2 separate regions of the Homo sapiens genome follow, and region 1 is linked to region 2. The links are contacts of gene promoters, found by promoter capture Hi-C in blood cells and fetal thymus (Javierre and others, 2016). All regions are on one chromosome and are shown on one strand. The core of a region is centred on a gene start or on the middle of the fragment in contact, and the rest is flanking DNA. Distances in the headings are between cores, read along the strand shown.

Region 1 (4,883 bases), core at 1,898-4,397, 250 kb after region 2:
TTTTTTTAAATTTATTTTTTTCTTTCCTAATCATTAGAACCTATGAATCTTTCTTTTTTAACACATATTTTAATTCTATGTAGTACTCTGTAGCTTTTTTTTCTTTTTAAACTGTAGGTGAAGTATTATATCTGAGTCTCTTGTCCTCTGTTAAAAATCAAACTTTTCTAAGACAAACAATAGACCATTACACTTATCAGTTTCAGGTACTTTATAGGGTCTTATATCTTACAGTTTTTTTGTGTACAAGAGTATAGATTTCAGAATTATATAACCTAAAGAGTTGGGTGTGAAACTTTTGGGATATTTTGGTTGGGAGTTGTATTTATCTAATGTTTCTGGTTGTCTTGTCTTGTAGTTAAAATATACTCGTCCAGGGCTCCCTACCTTCAGCCAGGAAGTACTACATAAATGGAAGACAGATATCAAGAAATATCATCGTATTCAGTGTCCTAACCAGGTGGTTCTTTCTCATTCATTTATTCAGTAAATGTTTATCAAGCATCTGCTCTTGCTTCTGTTATTTATTCCTTCATGACAAAGTACCTGAACCTCAGTGGCTTAAAACAATTATTTTATTTGTTCACAATTCCATAGAGCAATAATTCTGTAAAGGCTCAGCAGGGCAGTTCTCCTGCGATATGTAGCATCAGCTGGAATCGCTCATAAAAGTGCGTTCAACTGGAAACTCAGACTGGAATGTTCAAGATGGTTTCTGTGCAGCTGCATTTATCTGGGAGCTTGGCTGTCCATATGGCCTCTCTCTCTAGCAGAGTAGCTGGGCTACCAGCAGGGTACACAGTGACTGACTTCTCAGGGAATATTTTGAGATCATGAAAGCAGGGTTGCAGATCTCTTAAAATCTAGCTTCAGAATTTGCACAGCATCACTTCCATGGTGTTTTATTGATCAAAGGAATCATGGGACTAACCCAGATTCACAGGAAGGGTAAATAGACTCCACTTCTTGATGGCAAGAGTGGAAGAGAATTTGCAGCCATCTTTATTTTTACGATTCTAAAAATATTTTTATTTTCTAGAGTCAAGATGAGGGAGAGAGCCATCTTTAAACTATCACAGCTATAGTAGATTCAGTACTTTGCAGAGGAGTAAATATAAAAGAAGTGGGAACACATTTGCACTAAATAAAGCAGATTTTAAAAAAAACTATATAATTTTCTGTGTTTCTCTTAAGTGTCAGAGAAAGTACTGAGGGAAGGAAATGGCTTAATCTTTCCTAAACAACTTGTTCACCTTCTGTTTCTTTTCTTTTTACCTTTCCTTGGCTTTCCTTCTTTTGCGGCTTGCATGTATATTCTTTTTTCGTTTGTTTTGTGGCACAAATTATTGGTTTTCTTCCTTCAAATGTGGAGTTGGTCAGTGTAAATGGCCAGATTGTTCAGAGAAGGGAGCTATTTGGCATAGTCTTCATACTATTTCTTCTCTTTTGCAGGGCTGTGAGGCTGTCTACAGCAGTGTATCTGGCCTTAAAGCTCACCTGGGCTCTTGTACATTGGTTTGTAACTTTTTAAACTTACTATCTTAACATGTCCTCTAAAATAGTCTGACATGGAAGAGAATTCAGTTTAGGTGAACAGCTAGTTGTCCTGTTTACCATTATCTTCAGAGGCTGCTTTAGATTTTTATGTCTCTAAGATTCTTGGTCTGGTATTGGGTGGGATGCCAGGGCATGTCCAAGACTTAGAAAAGATCACCATAGTCACAAGTCATTATCAATTTAAAGGAATTGGAAGAAACATATATTTGTTCTGAGTTCCTATCCCTGAATTCTAAGAGATTCAGCTCCTTGCATTTGAGCATCTCCTACACTGGGCCTGCCCTGTTTAGGTGGGCCTAAAACTTTGTAGAATCACCTTACATGTGCTTACCTGGATTGGTAAAGATCCTCTATACCCATCTGAACCATACTGGCCTCTCGGGATGGGAGGTGGGATAGGGTGTCAGGCTAACAGCCATTCACCTCACTGAATCTTTTCCATGTTGACCCAGGTGTCCTACAACCTACCAGCCATGGGAATTGCTGCCATTTTCCAATCTCCTCACACAAAATGAGCACCATGGAAACCTGAAGCTTCAGGAGGGGAGAGAAGTCTCAGTTCAAGGCAACAAGGGAGTTGTAGGCATCTAAACCAGATCTGTCTAGGAATGCTTAGGAGTTTGTCATCTTGATCCTAGTTTCTGAGTCCTTAAACTAGGTATTACGGATGGTACTCTTCTAATTCTGGATTTTGAAGGCACTTTTTGCGACAGTAGATCATAGTGGGAAGAATTGTACATTGGTGCCTCTGGTGAATTTTGGGCATTTGATCATTTTGGGGGAGGAACCAAGACAACCTGGAAGTGAAGTGAAAGGAACATAGGAAGGTAGAAAGATGTGGCATATTACCTGAGAAAAAGTAGGAGACTTTCAGGTTGTGTTGAAGTAGGGTGGGTGATTGGAACAGAATTGCACTAGGATGGATTTATGTTGATAATCATCCATCCAAGCTGGTTTTCCTAAATCTATTACTATATTGGATCTTTTTCCTTCTTATCTTTGCTGAAGTAGAATTCCCTCTTTTCATCTCTAACAATCCCTACACATAGCCCAGTTATGTTGCTGAATTTACCAGTAATTCTTTTTTGTTTCTCTCTTGGAAATAGGGAAACTTTGTGGCTGGAAAATACAAATGTCTTCTATGTCAGAAAGAATTTGTGTCAGAGAGTGGTGTCAAGTATCACATCAACTCCGTCCATGCTGAGGTGAGGTTTTTGTAATCCTGTGGGCCTGATATGTAAGCCACAAGAGAGGTAGACTTTGTCCCTATTGTTATGGACTAAGGCTGTCAAGGAAAGTATCTCTAAAGTGGTTACCAGAGCCATTAGAGTTAAAATATTCTCTAAACTTAGATATATAATTGTATTTTTCTGTGAAAGTATTTGAAGTCACTGTGAGGGGTGGGCGGGGTGGCTTATGCCTCTAATCCCAGCACTTTGGGAGGCCAAGGCAGGAGGATCACTTGAACCCAGGAGTTTGAGGCTGCAGTGAGCTGGTTGCGCTACTGCACTCCAGCCTAGGCAACAGAGATCCTGACTCAAAAAAAAAAAAAAAATCACTGTGACTGTAAGCATCCTTGAACTCTTTTTTTTTTTTTTTTTAGACGGAGTCTCGCTCTGTTGCCCAATCTGGAGGGCTCACTGCAACCTCCACCTCTCGGGTTCAAGCAATACTCCCTGAGTAGCTGAGATTACAGGCACCTGCCACCATGCCTGGCTAATTTTTGTATTTTCAGTAGAGATGGGGTTTTGCCACGTTGGCCAGGCTGGTCTTGAACTCCTGACTTCAGGTGATTCACTCGCCTTGGCCTCCCAAAGTGCTAGGATTACAGGTGTGAGCCACCATGCCCGGCCTGAACTCTTCTAATTCCTTTAAATCCAATTAAGTCAAATGTTTGGGAACCAGATTGAGTTTACATGTTTGAAATTCTTATTTCACAGTGATCTCTATACATTCATGCCTTCTAGCATTCTAATGTCTTCCAGCAACCCATTTTTAACGCTGTTTAAAATACTGGATAAAACAACTAAAGGACATTATTGAGACAGTTGGGGAAATTTGAATGCTGACTGTATTAAATAATAGTATTGTGTCAGTGTTAACATTCCCAAAGGTGATAGTTGTAGTCATGCAGGAGAATGCCCTTGTTCTTAGGCAGATATATGCCAAAGTGTTTAGGGATGAAGTATTATGATGTCTGCAACTAATTTGCACATAGTTCAGCAAAAGAAAGAAGGAGGGAAGAAGGAAGAGAGGAAGGAAAGAAATTAACAGTGGTAAATTTGATTGTTCATTGAACTGTTGCAACTTTTCTGAAGGTTTGTAATTTTTCAAAATAAAATTTTAAAATTGTGTATAAAAATGCTTTAAAGTTCAGAAGGTCAAGGGTTTTCTCTTGGGGAAGGTTTTTTAGTAATACAGGTGAACAGAGAAATCGTTTATGATATAATTAAATAGTCCTACTACAACAGCTTAGGAATACAATTTGCATTCTCTTGGAATATCTCACTGCAGAAACTATTGCTGCCTGATGTGGAAAAATAAAGGGAACACCTTTATTTATTTTCTGCCCTCAAATTTGATAGTACTTAACAATGTGAGCTTTAATTACTTCCATAAAATTTGGTTTCTGTTGCTTTACTGGCATAAGCTTTCAGAATCCCTAACCAAAGCCTGAGATGTCTTCTGAAGGCAGTCATATCTTTTTAGTAATAATAGCATATCTTTTTTTGCTTTAGGAAGTATTTAAAAGGTAATTATCGGCTGGGCACGGTGGCTCACGCCTGTAATCCCAGCACTTTGGGAGGCCGAGGCGGGCAGATCACCTGAGGTCAGGAGTTCAAGACCAGCCTGGCCATCATGGTGAAACCCCATCTCTACTAAAAAGTTAGCTGGGTGTGGTGGCGGGCACCTGTAATCCCAGCTACTTGGGAGGCTGAGGCAGGAGATTTGCTTGAACCCAGGAGACGGAGGTTGCAGTGAGCCGAGATTGCGCCACTGCACTCCAGCCTGGGCAACAGAGCAAGACTCTGTTAAAAAAAAAAGGTAATTATCTCCTGACAAAATCTGGCCTTTATATAGTTAAATGGTTTGTCTATTTTCTTCCTAAAAAGTTAAAATCAAAAGAATTGGAACCAACAAATTTCACTTGGTTTGGGGCATGCTCCCAGGCATTTGTTTATTGATTTATGCCTCTATGAATTTTGTGGGTGGTAAAACATCTTTACCCTGTTTCTTCCTCCCTCCATCACATTTTCTTACACTACTTTTTTTTTTTTAACAGAAAATTTCAAACACATGAAAGTAGAGAAAATAGCATAATGAAC
Region 2 (5,061 bases), core at 1,283-3,782:
GTGTAATCCTGAATCACCTATAGGGTACACAAGGTGATCTGCAAAATACCCCTTAATAAAGATCTCTGAACGGGGGCTGGGGGTAAGCTTCACTGAGGAAAATGTTCTGAGGGTAGGAGTATTCCCTCTGTCCCCCAGAGATGACCTTGGGTGACAGAAGCTGGGGTAGTATTGGGGGAGGTGGGGTTGGATCATAAGAGAGAACAGGATGGGACATACCTGCTGCAAGGCACGAAGCAGGGCAATACACCGGGCATTGGAGCCACTGACCAGGCCCTGGGAGTACTGCAGGCCGAGTCGCACCATGGCTGGGTGGATCACAGAGGATGGGATGCTGATGGGATGGCGGTGTCACATACTTTGAAAGGGAGCTTGAGCATCTACTGCCCACCTGCCCCTGATGAAAAGGAACTCCCTTCACTAGCAGATTTCCCCACTCCTCTACAGTTCTGCCTTGGGTTCATACTTTTTCCTACAGAGTCCATCTCAGATTACTAGAAACTTTCAATACTGACTTACTAAAACTCCTCAGACTCAAAAGTTATGACAATTTCATAGGATCCTACCTCATAAACTGGGTCAGAGAGTTTTGTCTGCTGTACTGGGGTAGGTGAGAGAAGAGACTGACTTTGGATCCATAATCCTTTCGTGTAGGAACCTTGACAAAACAAGGGAACAGGACCAATGGCCCAGAGTTTAAAAAGGATGGGATAAAGCTGGAAAGGAAGTGAACAGTAAGACTACTCTGACCCAAGCACCTATCCTTCTCACTTTGCACCCAGCACCTTTCCTCCCTCCAGTCCATTTCCCTAGGCTCTTTCTAGCCAGGCACCAAACCCACTTCCTACCTGTTGACGCTCTGGTTTTTTAACAAGCCTTCTCAGAAGTAGGTCATCAACCTGAGGGTACTCAGGGAGACGCTTCACTCCTGAAAGATAATCATCATGTTTTCAGGACACTGTAGGTCTTGAAATGTGTAATTTGCTCTTAGGGTATAAGGGGCATCAAGAAAAACAGGATGAGGTGGAGAAAACGGGAGAATAGGGTAGAAAAGGAAATAGGGATAGGATAATGGGGTTGCAGGAACAATTCAGAACTCTGGGTCCCAAGAATGAGAGGGGAGAGCTGTTTTACTATTGGGCAGCCTGAGCTGGCGTTATAATTAGGAGTAAGGGAGGTCTTAAAATGAAGGGAAGATACCTGAGGGGGTTTCTCCAGCTGTGCTGGGGCTGGCCTTAGGAGGTGGTCCTCCTTGTTCCCCTTTTCTTGCCTGTTTCAGGGCCCGCTCGGCCTCCTGCTTGGCTCGACGCTCAGCCCGAAGTTCGGCCTTACTCCGACCAGCTGGAACTTTCTCCCGAGGAGTGCCCAACTGAATGCCCGATTCTGGCAGTTCTCTGGTTGGGCCTACTAAAAGCATTAAAAAAAAAAATGCCCAAGCTGCAGGCAGGTGATATCCGTGCCCCAGCTAAAACTAGCTTCTCTCCTTGTAAACCTCTTTGCTTTACACACTTGCTCAAATCAACTTTGTCCTGTCTCTCCCTTATCTCTCCCACCACATCCCTCTACCAGCTCCACACCCCAGCCCTTTAAAAGAGACCCCTCACTCACCTTGACATTGGGCTGCAGATACAGCAGAGCCAGTCTCTGGTTCTGCCCCCTTTTCTTCCTTCCGTTTCTTCTTCTGCTGTTTCTTTTCCTTCCGAAGCTGCAGCTTTTCTTCTTTGGTCATTTCCCTCCCCACTGCCTGAGACACAGACATAGGATACTGCTCTTCCCCAACAATTCCAAAGGGGAACAAATACTATTGGATGCTTACAAGATTTCCACATGGTTAAATCCCTAGTTCTTCCTAACTTCCACAAGCTACCTGTTGCAAGCTTACATCCACAGAGGCTGACGTTTCTCCTCCAGGGACAGAATCATATATCCCTAGGGTTGCAAGACCTCTGTAAAATCTCCTGGCTTTACTGAGAAATAAACCGACACGGGATGGGAGCTGGGGCGGAATAAAGCTGGCACAGCCTCCTGCGTAGCGCTTGGCAGGCGGCTTGGGAGGGAAGCCTCACTTACCCCAGGCCCAGGGGGAAGCTCCGCCTTCATCCCGGATCCCGAGTCTGCATCAGAAAACAGGGCACAAAGTGAGCCAGAGAGACTCCGGGAGGGTTTGGGGGCACGAGTACTCGGCGCAGCCGGCTGCTGGGTTGGCATGACCACGGATCCGCCGGCAGGCGCGAGGCGAGCCAGGGATCCGCGTGGGGACGCACTGCGCGGCGGATCAAAGGAATGGAGGGGTCACCGACCCTCCTCACAGCAACCAGCCGGTGCGCGGCGCGGGACTGCGCTCGAGACTGTGTAGACCGGAGCCCAGCGTGGCGCTGGAACGGAGCGGCGGGGCCCAAAGGCGCTCAAGGCCCGGCACTAGCTGTCCGGAGCTCGTCGGCTCCGCGTACCAGTAGGCAGGCCCGGCTCTTCACTCACCCTCGCGAACAGCCACGGCCACAGCAGCCATCGCCCTCAGTCCTAGGCTCCGCCCGCCGTGGTCACGGAGCCGCCCCGCTGCCTCGCTCCGCGGCTGCAGGGTCCACAGCGCCACCTGGGCTGGAGGCTGAGCCGCAGAAGCGAAGCGCGCAGCCCCAATCGGACTACAATTTCCGACGGGCCCCGAGGCCCCGCCCCGCACTACGGGTTGCAATGAGGGCCAACTCCACTTTGGGCTCCCTATCCGGACAGGTGGCTCTTGCCCTTTAGACTACAGTTCCCAGCATGCCCAGGCGATTGCGTCCCAGAACCGACGTCCCACCGCCTTCCCACATCGGATCGCAGGGCTCCCAAAATGGCGAGTGAGGCTGCGGGGACTCGCTGAGCAGCGGAGGGGGAGCGTGCAGAGCCGCTGCGGCCCTCACAGTCCGGAGCCCGGCCGTGCCGTGCCGTAGGGAACATGCACTTTTCCATTCCCGAAACCGAGTCCCGCAGCGGGGACAGCGGCGGCTCCGCCTACGTGGTGAGGAGCGGCCGGAGCCGAGCCGGGCCGGGCAGGGGCGGGGATAACGGGCCCGAGCCATCTCGGAGCGGCCTCTGAGGCCTGACCGCCACCCTTCGGGCCTGGTCCTGGGCCGCCGACTCCCGACGGCCTCTCTGGGAGCTTATCTCATGTGTGTGATTCGTGCAGTGGTCGCCCGAGCTCCTGTAGGCCCTTAGGCCGGGTCGCTTCCCCGAGCTAGGCCGCAGCTGCCCTGGTGGGCGTCACTGGCCTCTTGGGCAGTGAGACTGCAACACAAGCGTCCGAATTTCCCCCGGACTGGCTCTTCAGCTTTGGGACTTGGCCCTGGCGAAAACAAGCGAACTATCCCTCGGGAGATTAGCGCGTTACTCCGGCGAGTTGCCAGGCAACTTCCGGCCAGGGTTCTCAGGGGGGTTGCGCAGACCGCAACCCTAAAATGCTTGACTACTTTTGTGTCCTCAGGCCTATAACATTCACGTGAATGGAGTCCTGCACTGTCGGGTGCGCTACAGCCAGCTCCTGGGGCTGCACGAGCAGGTGGGACTAGCACCCCTGCCTTGAGACAGCTTCAAGCCCTTCCCTACACGTGGACATCAGTGTCTCCCTTTACCCGCTCTTCTTGTTCCCGTAGGCTGTAGTTCCCCTTTAATCACTGCCACAGGGTAGGGCCCTGGTTTATCTTGTCTGACATTTCCGGGAACTCCCTAAGAAGCTTAATGTCCGCGCAACAACTGCTCCTTCCTGTTCTTATATTCTGGTTTTCTGTCCAGTCTTACTGCTCTAGTAGCCTTTACCCCTGCATGGACAAACCAACCCCTCCCCCCACTACCTCCACCCAGGCTGTCAAAGCACATTCCTTCTGTCATCTGAGCGGCAACTTGAAATTCTTTTCCCTGCTTATACAAACGATTCACCGATTTCCTTTTGTGTTCTTCGGCTCATTTCAGTGTGTTTAGCTGTGCCAATTATCGTTATGTATCTGTGATGCAATGTTTCTCCTCCTTCCTTACCAGATCTTAAACTCTATTTAACTCAGTAGAGCTCCACTGATAATTAGTTGTGCAACCCTGAACAAGTTACCTGATATCTTTTTTTGGGACGGAGTTTCTCTCTTGTTGCCCAGGCTGGAGTGCAGTGGCACGATCTCGGCTCACTGCAACCTCTGCCTCCTGGGTTCAAGCGATTCTCCTTCCTCAGCCTCCTGAGTAGCTGGGATTACAGGCGGCTGCCTCCACACCCAGCTAATTTTTGTATTTTTAGTAGAGAGGGGTTTCACTATGTTGGCCAGGCTGGTCTCAAACTCCTGACCTCAGGTGATCCACCCACCTTGCCTCCCAAAATGCTGAGATTACAGGCATGAGGCCTGTAGAAACTGATTTCTTTGGGCCTCAGTTTCTACAACTGAAAGATGGATTCTTTGATCTGCAAAGTCCCTTTAAGTCCTAAGATATTTTGTGAACAGACTTAGCTATTAACTGTGCACTTTATAAAGCCCTTTCCTTCCTTTAAGGGTTCAGTGAACAGTCTTGCTAGGTGGTCAAGGGGCTCCCTATAGGTCCTGGCCCAGTACAAATCCTCCCCGTACTGTGGAGGGGCTGACTTGTACACAGTAAAATAGAGCACAACTTATATCTAGGACAGCTCCCTTGAGGTGCTACCGCTGTCAAAGGAATTGTTTCTCAGATGACCAGGGTAGACAGGGGAACAGGGACTGAGGGAAGGGAGGGGCACCCAAGAGAACATTATGAGCATATGTAGATTGCCTCATCTCATTTTCTGTGTTTATGTGAAGGGTTGTATCTCTTTCTCTAAATAGCTTCGGAAGGAGTATGGGGCCAATGTGCTTCCTGCATTCCCCCCAAAGAAGCTTTTCTCTCTGACTCCTGCTGAGGTAGAACAGAGGAGAGAGCAGTTAGAGAAGTACATGCAAGCTGGTGAGTGGTTGCAGGAAACTAGGTTGACTATATTGAGGACTATGGGGAGAGACTTAAAAACAGCTGGTTCTGTGGAAGGGCCTGATTTAATTTCTAGATCTAGGAAGGCTCTTGTTTGATCTGTTA

Evidence for each region. The method cuts DNA at HindIII sites, captures the fragments that hold promoters and counts their contacts. A CHiCAGO score of 5 or more calls a contact.
Region 1: a contact is called between a fragment that was not itself captured here and the fragment with the promoter of EIF2B4 in region 2, in 1 of 17 cell types (megakaryocytes). The highest score is 5.5, in megakaryocytes.

What each region holds. Positions count from the first base shown.
Region 1 is chr2:27,614,810-27,619,692 of GRCh38, forward strand. ZNF512 (zinc finger protein 512) reads left to right here. Exons shown (of 14, transcript NM_032434.4): 11 at 359-460; 12 at 1,453-1,515; 13 at 2,664-2,762. Among named protein-coding and RNA genes, the nearest start is that of CCDC121, 12 kb to the right of the region's middle. The HindIII fragment of the contact is 2,116 bases long and covers 2,090-4,205 here.
Region 2 is chr2:27,367,806-27,372,866 of GRCh38, forward strand. It overlaps EIF2B4 (eukaryotic translation initiation factor 2B subunit delta), which reads right to left and starts at 2,533. Exons shown (of 13, transcript NM_001034116.2): 1 at 2,479-2,533; 2 at 2,071-2,114; 3 at 1,609-1,744; 4 at 1,201-1,407; 5 at 849-928; 6 at 567-658; 7 at 220-334; 8 at 1-17. The coding sequence starts at 2,509. It overlaps SNX17 (sorting nexin 17), which reads left to right and starts at 2,811. Exons shown (of 15, transcript NM_014748.4): 1 at 2,811-3,001; 2 at 3,464-3,538; 3 at 4,818-4,935. The coding sequence starts at 2,939. It overlaps GTF3C2-AS2 (GTF3C2 antisense RNA 2), which reads left to right. Exons shown (of 4, transcript NR_183827.1): 4 at 1-75. RefSeq lists enhancers at 1,779-2,740, 2,214-2,493, 2,714-2,803, 2,741-3,702, 2,824-2,883 and 1 more. The HindIII fragment of the contact is 1,836 bases long and covers 1,876-3,711 here.